2 separate regions of the Homo sapiens genome follow, and region 1 is linked to region 2. The links are contacts of gene promoters, found by promoter capture Hi-C in human tissues and cell types (Jung and others, 2019). All regions are on one chromosome and are shown on one strand. The core of a region is centred on a gene start or on the middle of the fragment in contact, and the rest is flanking DNA. Distances in the headings are between cores, read along the strand shown.

The links. The method cuts DNA at HindIII sites, captures the fragments that hold promoters and counts their contacts. A contact is called where the count stands out against the background at its distance.
Region 1: the fragment with the promoter of RAB3A here is called in contact with the fragment with the promoter of JAK3 in region 2 in 1 of the 25 tissues and cell types used here (spleen).

The regions. Positions count from the first base shown.
Region 1 is chr19:18,201,784-18,208,383 of GRCh38, reverse strand. RAB3A (RAB3A, member RAS oncogene family) reads left to right here and starts at 4,342. Exons shown (of 5, transcript NM_002866.5): 1 at 4,342-4,488; 2 at 5,644-5,871. The coding sequence starts at 5,644. It overlaps LOC102725254 (a long non-coding RNA gene), which reads right to left and starts at 3,654. Exons shown (of 2, transcript NR_134910.1): 1 at 3,485-3,654; 2 at 2,821-2,928. PDE4C (phosphodiesterase 4C) reads left to right here. Exons shown (of 15, transcript NM_001098818.4): 15 at 1-419. RefSeq lists silencers at 2,991-3,050, 3,936-4,325 and enhancers at 3,706-3,805, 3,991-4,285, 4,318-5,100. The HindIII fragment of the contact is 10,728 bases long and covers 292-6,600 here.
Region 2 is chr19:17,846,612-17,853,461 of GRCh38, reverse strand. It overlaps JAK3 (Janus kinase 3), which reads left to right and starts at 5,480. Exons shown (of 24, transcript NM_000215.4): 1 at 5,480-5,516. The HindIII fragment of the contact is 13,300 bases long and covers 952-6,850 here.

The sequences.
Region 1 (6,600 bases), core at 3,093-5,592, 360 kb before region 2:
GGACTGGGCAGCACCATGCTCAAGCCTAGGGTTCGATCCCCGCCTCCGGAAGCCTCAGTATCCATCCCTCCCCTCTGCCTCCCTCTTCGCGTGCCTGAATATTTATACAAGATACAGGCGTCATCACAGCCGCCCTCGGCTTCCAGAGCAGCTGGCTTCGTTCATAAATATTATAACCACTCAGAATTCATCATCATCACAGTTAATGATAAAATTCCACAGTGCCAGAACTAAAAGTCATCCGGGTTCACGAACTTGGTGCATTTCCTTCCAGACTTTTAAAAAGAAGATATTTAGGGAATTTTTTTTTCAAGATTTTTCCCCCCAGTCCGCTTACAAAGTAATACCATGTTCGCTGTAAAAAATTTGGAAATAATGGAAATGTATAAAGAAGGAAATAAAATTCTGCTGTATCTCCACCCATGGATTATCTGCAGTATTTTGACTTATTTCCCTCTAGTTTTTCTCCATCTGTTATAAGATATTCATATTTTTGGCTGGGCGCGGTGGCTCACGCCTGTAATCCCAGCACTTTGGGAGGCCGAGGCGGGCGGATCACGAGGTCAGGAGATCGAGACCGTCCTGGCTAACAGTGAAACCCCGTCTCTACTAAAAATACAAAAAATTAGCCGGGCGTGGTTGCAGGCGCCTGTAGTCCCAGCTACTCGGGAGGCTGAGGCAGGAGAATGGCCTGAACCCGGGAGGCGGAGCTTGCAGTGAGCCAAGATCGAGCCACTGCACTCTAGCCTGGGTGACAGAGCGAGACTGTCTCAAAAAAAAAAAAAAAATTCATATTTTTTTCTTTCTTTTCTTTTCTTTCTTTCTCTGTCTTTCTTTTCTTTCCTTTTCCCTTTCTCTTTCTTTCTTTCTTTGCGTCTCGCCTTGTCGCCCAGGCGGGAGTGCAATGGTGTGATCTTGGCTAACTGCAACCTCCGCCTCCTGGGTTCAAACGATTCTCCTGCCTCAGTCTCCTGAGTAGCTGGGATTACAGGTGCCCACCACCATGCCCAGCTAATTTTTGTATTTTTAGTAGAGACTGGGTTTTCACCATGTTGGCCAGGCTGGTCTTGAACTCCTGACCTCATGATCCGCCTGCCTCGGCCTCCCAAAGTGCTGGGATTACAGGCATGAGCCACTGCACCCAGCCCTAGAATATTCATATTTCTTATAAATGAATATTCATATGTTCTCCTTCAGTTTGAGCCAAAGGCATTTGTCCCTCTCCTCTTACTGACTGCATCTGCTCTGGCCACACTGCAAGCCTGGTCCCACCACAGGGCCTTCAAACAAGCTGTTCCCACTACCTGGAATGCTTCTCTCTCAGCCCCCAGCCTCACCCATTAGATTTTTGTTTTTATTTTTGTTTTAGACAAAGTTTCGCTCTTGTTGCCCAGGCTGGAGGACAATGGCGTGATCTTGGCTCACTGCAACCTCTGCCTCCCGGGTTCAAGCGATTCTCCTGCCTCAGCCTCCCAAGTAGCAGGGATTACAGGCGACCGCCACCATGCCCGGCTAATATTTAGTAGAAATGGGGTTTCACCATGTTGACCACGCTGGTCTTGAACTTCTGACCTCAGGTGATCCACCCACCTCGGCCTCCCAAAGTGCTGGGATTACAGGCATGAGCCACCACACCTGGCCCCCACACTGGGTTTTAAGTTAGTGTCTTCTTCCCCGAGAAGTCGTCCCTGGACCCGTATCTGGGATACTTTTTTTTTTTTTTCTTGAGACAGAGTCTCCCTCTAGCACCTAGGCTGGCGTGCAGTGGTGCCGGTGATCTCAGCTCACTGCAACCTCCGCCTCCCTGGTTCATGCGATTCTCATGCCTGGGCCTCCTGAGCAGCCTCCTGGGACAGGCACCACCACACCGGGCTAATTTTTGTATTTTTAGCAGAGATGGGGTTTCACCATGTTGGCCAGGCTGGTCTCGAACTCCTGACCTCAAGGTCAAGGAGTGATCCTCCTGACTCGGCCTCCCAAAGTGCTGGTATTACAGGCATAAACCACCGCACCTGGCCACATTTTTATTTTTATTTGTCTAGTGTAGACGATAGGGTAGGGATGCAGGGAAGCCTCTGGACTTTCCTCTGAGTGGGACCGGCCTGGAAGCCTAGCCCGTTCTCCCACCAGCTCTGTCTCCCCTGACACAAAGAAAATACCCCAATCCCGCAGCCCCTCCCCCAGCTCAACCATTTCTAATTCCAGAGCCCAATGCTGCTCTGGACAATCAAGGGCTTGCATTCTTTTTAAATTTAAATTAAGTAATTAATTTTTTGAGACAGCGTCTCACTCTGTCGTCCAGGCTGGAGTGTAGTGGCGCGATACGGTTTCCTACAGCCTCGACCTCCTGAGCTCAAGTGATCCTCCTACTTCAGCCTCGGGAGTATTTGGGTCCACAAGCACGCGACACCACATCCAGCTAATTTTTAAATTTTTTGTAGAGATGGGGCCTCCCTATGTTACTCAGGCTGGTTTCCAATTCCTGGGCTCAAGCGATCCTCCCGCCTTGGTCTCCCAAAGTGGTGGGATTACAGGCGTAAGCCTCCGCACCCGGCTATTTTTACTTTAAAATACTAAGTCAGTGACGGAAGCTTCCGCACATTCTCGTGGCTCACTTTTCTCTTCCTGGGGAAAAAAGGCAGGAGGTATTTCCGAGAGAGCCACCCATGTAGGAAGCGTGCCTTTGGGCGATCAGGGAGCTGAGCAACCGAAAAACCTCCCCTCCAAGGAGGCGGCAGGCCAGGGCCTGGACCAGCTGCCCTGGAGCCCCCCACAGAGCACGGACTACCGCGTGGGCGCGGAGGGCAGGGAGAATGGGAGGTGGATTTCTTTTTATTTTTTGTTTTTCTGAATTTTCCCAATTTCTCTGCAGTGGATTGGTGATACTTCTATAGTCCGAGTGGGGGAGGAGGGAGCAAACATGTTACCCTAAAAAGAAAAAATAAATTTCCCAAATGTAAACGGTGCGGGGACGTGGGGGTGGGCGTCCCAGTACTCCCAGGGCACTGGGGGCGGGCTGGGGACTGGGTTGGCGGCGGCTGGGCCTCGAGGCGCTAAGTTATTCTGGTCTCTCGGCGCCTCCGCAGCTGGCGAGCTTTTTATAAACAGGACGAGTCACCCCCCGCCACACACACACGCTCCAGCCCCGCCTACTGGGAGGGGTGGGGGGAGAATCTAGGGGATCAGGACTCTCCTGGGGGCCACACACCCCTGGAGGGTTTGAAAGCTGGAGTAGGGGGAGCAGGAGACCCAAAGTGGGGGCTGGGGTTTCGGGCTCCTCCTCCCTCCCCAAATTCTGACTTCCTTCCCTAAAGATTTGGAGGAATAAAAGATGGACCATCTTAGCTCCCAAAAGGCTCCATCCTCTGAGTTTTGCTTTCCCAGGATGGAGGGAGGGGGTCTCCCAGCCCCCGGGTCTTTGAATCCGAGCTTTGAAGAGCTGGAGGCTTCGGCTCGTGCCCTCCCTGTTTCCCGGGGCATTTACCGCAGGCTTTAAGGGGTTTCCGGGACAGGTCGCTTCTCTGTCCCTGCTAAACCTTTTCTTCGAATTTTCTTCTTGATGACGGGGCGCAGGGAGGGGAGGGGGTTCCCAGAGAGTCCATCAGCCCCTTCCTCCTTTTCTGGGAATGGTGGGGAGGGGAGGCTCTCTTGACCTCTACTTCTTTCTTTTCAAACCTCAGAAACGGGGGAGGGGTGGAGTCTTTACTAGCCCCTCCCTCAGTGGGGGGGTCTTACGCCTCGGGAATGGGACAGGGGTCCCTCTTGACTCCTGTTTATTCTTTGGTATTTATTTTGAACCCCATATATGTGAGGGTATAAAACATCTCTTGGGCCTCGATTTTTCTTTTCTGCAATTGGGAGTCAGGGGCATTTAACAGGGGTCACAGCACCTTGGACTAGACGGTGGCCTCAAGAGTCCCCTACCTGGGGTGGGTGCGGGCGGGTAAGGGAACCGCCCCTCGAAGACCGGGGCTCAGCCAAGGCCTCAGCCTCTCGGCCCTTCAATCTCCCAGATGCCACCATTGGACAAGAGGAGGGCGTAGACAATCTCTGATTGGCTACTTCGCCCGTCGCTCGAGAGCTTAAGCCAGTGAGAGAACGCTGAGGGGCCCCGCCTCCCCGAGGCGGACAGGAGGCGGACGAGAGGCGGAGTCGGCCCCCGCGCCGCTCCCGCCCCTACTGGATGCACACGCTAGGCCCCGCCCCATTTGCACGTCAATCTGCTCAGGAGCCCTGCCCCATCTGGCTCTGCGTGCGTCAATGGGCCACATCTCTACGCGCGGCTCCGCCTCCGGATGGCGTCACGGACTTATCTACATGTGAGGCTCCGCCCCTCCCTTTGCAGGACGTCACGGAGGACTGCAGGGGCCTGAGCCGCTGCTGCCGCCGCCGCCGCGCAGCCCCACATCAACGCACCGGGGTCCTGTCACCGCCACCGCCAAAAAAGTCACCGCCGCTAGGGTCGCCGTTGCATCGGTGCAGGGCAAGGTGAGCTCCTGGGCGGCCGGGTGTGCTCAGGCTCCGAGCACCTGCATAACCTTCATTTGACTGATGGGCTGATGGAGGTGGGGGACGAGGTTGACTAGGGTTGAATGGGGGGAAGGATGCGGCGGTCGCGAGGCTGGGAATGGGTAGGGCCCGGGCGCCCCACTCCTGCCTGATCCTCACCACTAACCCCCCCAACCCCCCTGCTCTGCGGCGGAGGGGGAGGGGAGCCGAGCTCCTTGCGGGAAGCTGTGCGCGCGGGAGGCTTTTGCGTGCGCGTGCGCGTGGTGTGCACACGCGTGTGCGCGCCTGCCTGTGTCAGCGGGTCTGTGTGCACCCTTGCTTGTGTACCTGGATATGCTCGTGTGACGCCGTGGGGGTCTGGGCCTAAGTGTGTGAGCGTTGCACGCGCGTGGAGAAAGACGTGTGGACCGCCTGTGCAGGTATGGCCCGTGCATACAAGCACGGGGATCCGTGTCCGTGTGGGTGATGTGCACACGCCTGCATGGGTGGAGGGGCCTGTGCGCACGGGTGGTTTGCACATTTCTATAGGCGAGTCGGTGTGCAAACAGGTGTCTGTGTCTTTGTCCTGTGCACCTCAGTGCGTTCACACACTCCTGTATGTACGGATGAGCGTGTTTGAGGCTGTGTGCACGTGAGCGTGTGCATGCCCCTCCTGTATCATGTGATGCAGCGGCCTTGGCCGGAGCTCTCCGGCCTGGAGGTTTGCGGGGAGCGGGGGCTGCAGATGCGCGTCCTCGAGGGACCATGCACGCGGTGCACGTGGGGCCGCGCGGCCGGGTTCTGAGGACCATGAAAGATTGATGGGGGGCGGAGCCAGCCGCAGTCACCCCCTCCGGGCTCAGCCCTGGGTTTAGGGTTACAGCCCCACCTGGGGCACCTGCCCCTTGAAGGGGGCTGCTGGGGTGTCCCCATCGGCAACCCTCTGAGCCCCTCCTCTGAAACGCCCAGGATTTCAAGGTCACAGGCTGCCCTCTGCTGGGGGCACCACCAATTAATACTGGGGCTCCTGATGGGATAAGGGTGTCCTCCATACACCGGCCGTTTTCTGGAGCCCTTGCCATCTTCTGCCTGGGCTTGGGCACATGAGGATGGAGAGAGCCCCCCTCACGGCTCTGCTACACCCGGTATCCCCAGATGGCATCCGCCACAGACTCGCGCTATGGGCAGAAGGAGTCCTCGGATCAGAACTTCGACTACATGTTCAAGATTCTCATCATCGGCAACAGCAGCGTGGGCAAGACGTCCTTCCTCTTCCGCTATGCTGACGACTCGTTCACGCCTGCCTTCGTCAGCACCGTGGGCATCGACTTCAAGGTCAAGACCATCTATCGCAACGACAAGAGGATCAAGCTGCAGATCTGGGTGGGTCCCAGCTGGAGGGCTCCCGCCCGGCTCGGTTGGATTCCCGTACTTGGAAAAGCAGCCCCAACCTCGTCTATCTCTTTCCTGACTGGAGTCATTCACTTACACACTGGGCATTTATCAGTAAGGTGCCCACTGTGTACCGGGGCAGAAACAGCACCTGTGTTCTCCCATAAGCACCTAATCCTGGTCCCTCAGTTTCCCCATCTTCAAGTTCTTCCATGTATGAGGTTTCAGCTGGATCTTGGTCCCCATTCTCTTTTTTTGTTTGTTTTTTGAGACAGGGTGGTCTTGCTCTGTCCCCTAGGCTGGAATGCAGTTACGTGATCACGGCTCTCTGCAGCCTCGACTTCCCAGGCTCAAACCATTCTTCCACCTGAGCCTCCTGAGTAGCTAGGACCACGGGCTTCTACCACCACGCCTGCTGATTTTTTTCTTTTTTGTAGAGACAGGGTCGGGCTATGTCTGCCCAGGCTGGTCTTGAACTCCTGGGCTCAAGCGATCCTCCCACCTCAGCCTCTCAAAGTGCTAAGATTACAGGCATGAGCCACCCCACCTGGCCTTGTTAGTTTTAAGAGACAGAGTCTCACTCTGTTGCCCAGGCTGGATTTGAACTCGTGGGCTCAAGCAATCCTCCCGCCTCAGCTTCCCAAGTAGCTGGGAGTACAGGCAAGTGTCAGCTTCCTTTAATTTTTAAACCTACAGTTAAATTCTCTCCATCTTCATCTG
Region 2 (6,850 bases), core at 4,231-6,730:
TGGGTTCAAGCGATTCTCCCACCTCAGCCTCCCAAGTAGCTGGAATTACAGGCATGCACCACCACATCCAGCTAATTTTGTTTTGTCAGTGGAGATGGGGTTTCTCCACGTTGATCAGGCTGGCCTCAAACTCCTGACCTGGGACTACAGGTGTGCACCACCATGCCCAGCTAATTTTTGTGTTTTTTTTGGTAGAGGTGGTGTTTCGCCACATTGCCCAGGCTGGTCTCAAACACAAGTTGTTTGTCAGAGACCAGCCTGCAATTCTCCCAGGGTGCTGGGATTACAGGCGTGAGCTACCATGCCCAGCCTAGGGGCCTCTTTTATAAGGGCATTAATCCCATTCATGAGAGCTCAACCCTCATGATCTAATCACCTCTTAAAAGGTTCCGATTCTGAATACCACCGCCTTCGAGGTTAGGATTTCAATGTATTAATTTTGGGGAGACGCAAACTCTCAGACCATCACAGTATTTTATCTTTTTCAGTGCTGCTGCAAAGGAAATTTTTCAAAATTTTTTTATGTTCCAATTGTTTGCTGCTGGTGTATAAAAATTCAATTGACTTTTGTATTGAATTCAACGGACTTTTTAAACCTGGTAACTTGCTGAATTTATGTATTAATTTCAGTAGTTGTCTTATAGATTCCCTTGGGTTTTTGACATAAACAATCATATCATCAGCAAATAGCAACAGTTTTATTTACCTTTTTTTTATTACTTATTTTATTCTGTTTTGCTTGTTACAGAATCTTGCTATGTTGCCTTTAAATTCTTGGGCTCCCATTTCAGCTTCTCCAGTAGCTGAGGCTACAAGCATGTATCACCATGCCCAGCCACACCTGACTTGTTTATTTTTCTCATATATTTTTTTGTTTTAAGACAGGATCTCGCTCTGTTGCCCAGACTGGAGTGTAATGGTGTGATGATGGCTTACTGCAGCCTTGTCCTCCCTGACTCAAGCAATCCTCAGCCTCCCAAATAGCTGGGACAACAGGTGTGAGCTATCACACCCTGCCAATTTTTAATTTTTTTTTTTTTTTTGAGACAGAGTCTCCCTCTGTCACCTAGGCTGGAGTGCAGTGGCGCGATCTTGGCTCACTGCAACCTTCACCTCCCGGGTTCAAGCGATTCTCCTGCCTCAGCCTCCTGAGTAGCTGGGATTACAGGCGCGCATCACCACGCACGGCTAATTTTTGTATTTTTACCATGCCTGGCTAATTTTTGTATTTTTAGTAGAGATGGGGTTTCACCATGTTGATCAGGCTGGTCTTGAACTCCTGACCTTGTGATTCTCCCACCTCAGCCTCCCAAAGTGCTGGGATTACAGGCGTGAGCCACCATGCCCAGCTTTTCTTTTCTTTCTTTCTTTTTTTTTTTTTTTAGACGGAGTCTCACTCTGTCACCCAGGCTGGAGTGCAGTGGCCCGATCTTGGCTCACTGCAAGCTCCGCCTCCCTGGTTCACACCATTCTCCTGCCTCAGCCTGCTTTTTCTTTTCTTATTACAGTGGCTAACATCACCAGAACAATGTTGAATAGAGGTGGTGAAAATGGACATCCTTGTCTTGTTTCCAATCTCAGGAGGAAGTTATTCAGTCTTTTACCATTTTTGTTTTTGTTTTTGAGATGTAGTCTCGCTCTGTCGCCCAGGCTGGAGTACAGTGGCACTATCTTGGCTCCCTGCAACCTCTGCCTCCTGGACTCAAGCCATCCTCCCACTTCAGTCTTCCAAGTAGCTGAGACTACAGGTGCACACCACCATGCCTGGCTAATTTTTGTATGTTTTGTAGAGACGGATCTCACCATGTTGCCCAGGCTAATCTCCAACTCCTGAGCTCAAATGATCCTCCCATGTTGACTTCCCAAAGTGCTCAGATTACAGGCATGAGCCACCGTGCCTGGCCCTGCCTCACTGTACTCTTAATTTTCATTTGGCAAGTGAAGCTGAGGAAATTTTTCTGGGTTTAAGAGCTATTTGTCCTCCATTTTCTCTGACTTCTGGATTCATATCCACCTAACTGGTTGGCATTTTCTTACTGCTTTCTAGATGTTACTTATATAACGAGGATATTTTATCCATGAGTTCAATTTTGTTTCCAGTTACACTTTGATTGTATTTTATTCTTTGATTGTATTTATGGACTTCTTGTCAGCAGAAAAATCTGGGTGTTTGCATCACTGACGTGCCCCATTTTTCTCGGGCAAGTTCTGGGTTCTGTCCCCAGAACTTCCTTTTTTTAAAAAAAATTATTTATTTATTTATTTATTTTTTGATACGGAGTCTTGCTGTGTCGCCCAGGCTGGAGTGCAGTTGTGCGATCTCGGCTCACTGCAACCTCCGCCTCCCAGGTTCAAGTGATTCTCTTGCCTCAGCCTCCTGAGTAGCTGGGACTGCAGGCGCCCGCCACCACACCCAGCTGCGTTTTGTATTTTTAGTAGAGATGGGGTTTCACCAGGTTGGCAAGGCCGGTCTCGAACTCCTAACCTCAGGCGATCCGCCCGCCTCGGCCTCCCAAAGTGCTGGGATTATAGGCGTGAGCCACCGCGCCCGGCCAGAACTTCCTTTTAGAGCCTTCACATGCCCTTCTCTGGGGCTGAAGGTACCACTTTGGTCCTCACCCCAATCTCCTCTTACTTATTCTCAAAATATTGCAGAAACCATCACACTGGAGGTAGCAGAGACCCAGAAACTCACTGTACTTCCGGAAAGCAGAGGCTTCAGCCTCAGGCCAAGGATGAGAACATAAGGTTGCATTCCCGTCTGCTGAAGCCACCCAGGAAGTGAAAGAAAACACTACAACTAAGCTTCTGCTTGGCACTTCCTGCCGCAGGTCAGCTGTGGCTCCACTAAGCTCCACTAAGCTGAGGACATAATCTATATCTCTTTCCCTTGACCCACGCGGCCCTACCCACGCCATCAAATGAGTCTCAGCCCCCCGTGTCCCTGACATCCTGCTCTTCTCAGGAACACTGTGAATTCGTGAAGCCTCCAGGCCTTTGCCTGGGCTGTTCTGCCTGCCAGAACTGCCCACACTCCCACATTCTCAGGTCACTCTCTGGCTAGTCCCACTTGTTGTTGGATTTCAGAATCAAAGCCACCTCCTCCAGGAAGCCCTCCCAGATCCAGTCATCTCTCTTAGCAGACCGGTCCCAGGGGCAACTGATATAATTATTGGGCAATAGCTTGTTTATTGCCATCTCCCCTGCTGGACTGTCAGCTCCCCTGGACAGGGATTGGGTCTGCATTGTCCCCGATTCCCTGCACACAGGCTGTGTCCAATAAGCCTCTGGCTGATTGAACAGTTAAGATCAACAAAATACTTACCAAACCATTTTGTGTTAAGACTTGTGATGGTGATACAGAGATGAAAAGTCTTTTTTTTTTTTTTTTTGAGACGGGATCTCACTCCCATTGCCCAGGCTGGAGTGCAGTGGCATGACCACAGCTAACTGCAGCCTCAACTTCCTGGGCTCAGGTGATCCTCCCACCTCAGCCTCCCCTAGTAGCTGGGACTACAGGCACATGCCACCACATCCAGCTTATTATTTTGTTGTTGTTGTATTTTTTGTAGAGACAGGGTTTCACCATGTTGCCCAGGCTGGTCTCGAACACCTGGGCTCAAGCCATCCTCCTGCCTGAGCCTCCCAAAGTGCTGAGATTACAGGTGTGAGCCACTGTTCTTGGCCACAACTTCTTAAATCTATTCCTTTTTTTTTTTTTGAGACAGAGTATTGCTCCGTCGCCCAGGCTGGAGTGCGGTGGCACAATCTCAGCTCACTACAACCTCCGCCTGCCTCCTGGGTTCCAGTGATTCTCCTGCCTCAGCCTCCCAAGTAGCTGGGATTACAGGCACATGCCACCACGCCCAGCTAATTTTTATATTTTTAGTAGAGATGGGGTTTCACCATGTTGGCCAGGCTGGTCTCGAACTCCTAGGCTCAAGCAATCTTCCCACCTGGGCCTTCCAAAGTGCTGGAATTACAGATGTGAGCCACTGTACCCGGTCACCACTTCGTCAGTCTATTCCTGAAGCTCTACTTCCGGGGCTCTGATCCTATTATCCTAAGAACACTGGCCCAAGTCTCTGCATTTGGATGCTGCCCGGGCCTTCTGCCTCTTCTATTTATAACAGCTCCTACTTCCAACTCTCCTGTGGCTCCAGATTATGCTCCAGGCAAAACCCACCCTTCTCCCAAAGACCCTGATCCCCCTGTCCCCCCACGATCTTGCCCCTGTTGACCGCCCTGCAGTCCCCTTCCCCCTCATCTCACCCCTGCCCCTGGCCTCCTGACTGCTCTTCAAGCTGCTAAGATCACTGCCCTCTCAAGGTCTTTGCCCATCCTGTGCCCTCCTCCTGGAGCACCCTTTCCCTGGCCAGCTCCCTGTCCTGCCTCGGGTCCAAGTTCCAGTCTGTGCCTGTCCTGACACCCTGGCTTTCTTTGTTGTCTGCGATGATTTGGCTCCTTCATTTGCTCATTGTCTCAGCGCCAGATCACAAGTTCCAAGAGGCCAGGCCGGATCCACCTGGTTTTTTAGGGCTGGGCCCAGGGCACCACAGGCAGAAATGGGTCATTATCTCTCCCTGAGTCTTTTCTTTTTTTTTTAAACGAAGTCCCGCTCTGTTGCCAGGCTGGAGTGCAGTGGCGCCATCTCGTCTCACTGTAACATCCGCCTCCTAGATTCAAGCAATCCTCCCACCTCAGCCTCCTGAGTAGCTAGGATTACAGGCATCACCAGGCCTGGCTAATTTTCCTGTTTTTAGTAGAGACAGGGTTTCATCATGTTGGCCAGGCTGGTCTCAAACTCCTGACTTCAAGTGATCCGCCCGCCTCAGCCTCCCAAAGTGCTGCGATTACAGGCCACCACGCCTGGCTAATTTTTGTATTTTTAGTAGAGACGGAGTTTCGCCATGTTGGCTAGGCTGGTCTCAAACTCCTGACCTCAAGTAATCGCCCGCCTCAGTCTCCCAAAGTGCTGGGATGACAGGCGTGAGCCACTGCGCCCAGCGTCTCCCTGAGTCTTAAGGGAGAAATACCTCAAAGAAGAACTTGACCTTCCTCTGGGGCAACTTCCCTGCTTCCCTCCTGGGCAAATCCAGCCAGGTTTCCTTCCCTGGGTGCAAAATTAGTTCCACTGGGTGCCCAACTCACACATGCTACAGATGGGTAAACTGAGGCAATAAGGGCCGGGCCAGAGCCCCACTTAACAAGTGGGTCTAGAGTCGGCTGAGCCCCTGGTGTGACCCAGACCCTTCTCTGTGCTATCATCAGTTCCTTTGGCTTAGGGGTCTCCAGCAGCCTGTCTGAACGGGGCGGCTGATGCAGAGGCTTCCGGAACTTTCTGCCCCTCCTTGCCCGCCTCCCCGCCCCCAGCTCCCGCAGGGCCCTGACTTTCGGTAAATGACAGTGGCTCAGGAAACCAAGGGGCCCACACAGGAAGGAGCCGAGTGGGACTTTCCTCTCGCTGCCTCCCGGCTCTGCCCGCCCTTCGAAAGTCCAGGGTCCCTGCCCGCTAGGTAAGAGCTGGCGATGCCGCAGGGCTCGGCCCAGACACTGGGGGAGGATGGTGGTGGCGGGGGATGGCTGGGCTGGGGCAGGGTGCTGCCAGGGCAAAGGCTAGCTCGCCTTCCAGGCCTCGGAGGAAAGCTGCGAGGCAGACGTGAGCCGAGACTCGCATCCTCCGATCGCTCGCTTCTCTGGGCTTCGGCTTTGACTAAGGCCGGGAGATGCCTGCCTTGCGGACCTGGAGGAGTCATTGCGCATGCGCGACGGGGGCTGCGGGGTTGGGGGTGGGGAGGAGGGATTGGGAAGGAGGGATTGGGGGGCGGAGTTCCCAGCCCCTACCCTCCAGGCCTTCCCGGTCCAGACACAGGGTACCCGACCATACCAGGATGCAGAACGTTGAGGATTATAAACAGGGGATGCCGAGGCGGGAGGATAGCTTGAGGCCAGGAGTTCAAGGCCAGCCTGGGCAACATAGCCAGACCTCCATTTCTACAAACATTTTTAAAAAACCAAAAAAACTATGGCGTTTTCTGGGACCAAACATCACCTCTGACTTTTCATTTTTTTTTGTTACAGTATTACAGAATAATAATATTCTGTTAAGATTTTTTTGTTGTTTTGGAGATGGGAGTCTTGCTATGTTGTTCAGGCAGGTCTCTAACCCCTGGCCTCAAGCTATCCTGCTGCCTCAGCCCCCTGAGTAGCTGGGATTGCAGTGGGGCGCCACTGCCACTGAAGCCTTATTTTAAACTCGACTGGGGCTGGGCACAGTGGCTCATGCCTTTAATCCCAACACTTTGGGAGGCTGAGGCCAGCGGATCACTGGAGGTCAGGAGTTCGAGATCAGCCTGGTCAACATGGTGAAACCCTATCTCTACTAAAAACACAAAAATTAGCCAGGTTTGGTGGCGGGTGCCTGTAATTCCAGCTACTCAGGAGGCTGAGGCAGGAGAATCGCTTGAACCTGGGAGGTGGAGTTTGCAGTGAGCCGAGATCATGCCACTGCACTCCAGCCTGGGAGACAGAACAAGAATCCGTCCTCCCCCCTACAAAATAAATAAATAAATAAAAAGGCTGGGCAATGTGGCTCACGTGTGTAATCACAGCACTTTGGGAGGCCAAGGCAGGCGAATCACCTGAGGCCAGGAGTTTGAGACCAGCCTGGCCAACATGGTGAAACTCCGTCTCTACTAAAAATACAAAAATTAGCTGGGCGCTGTGGTGCGCGCCTGTAATCCCAGCCACTTGGGAAGCTGAGGCATGAGAATCGCTTGAACCCAGGAGGCAGAGGCTACAGTGAGCCAAGATCGTGCGACTGCACTCCAGCCTGGGTGACAGTGCGAGA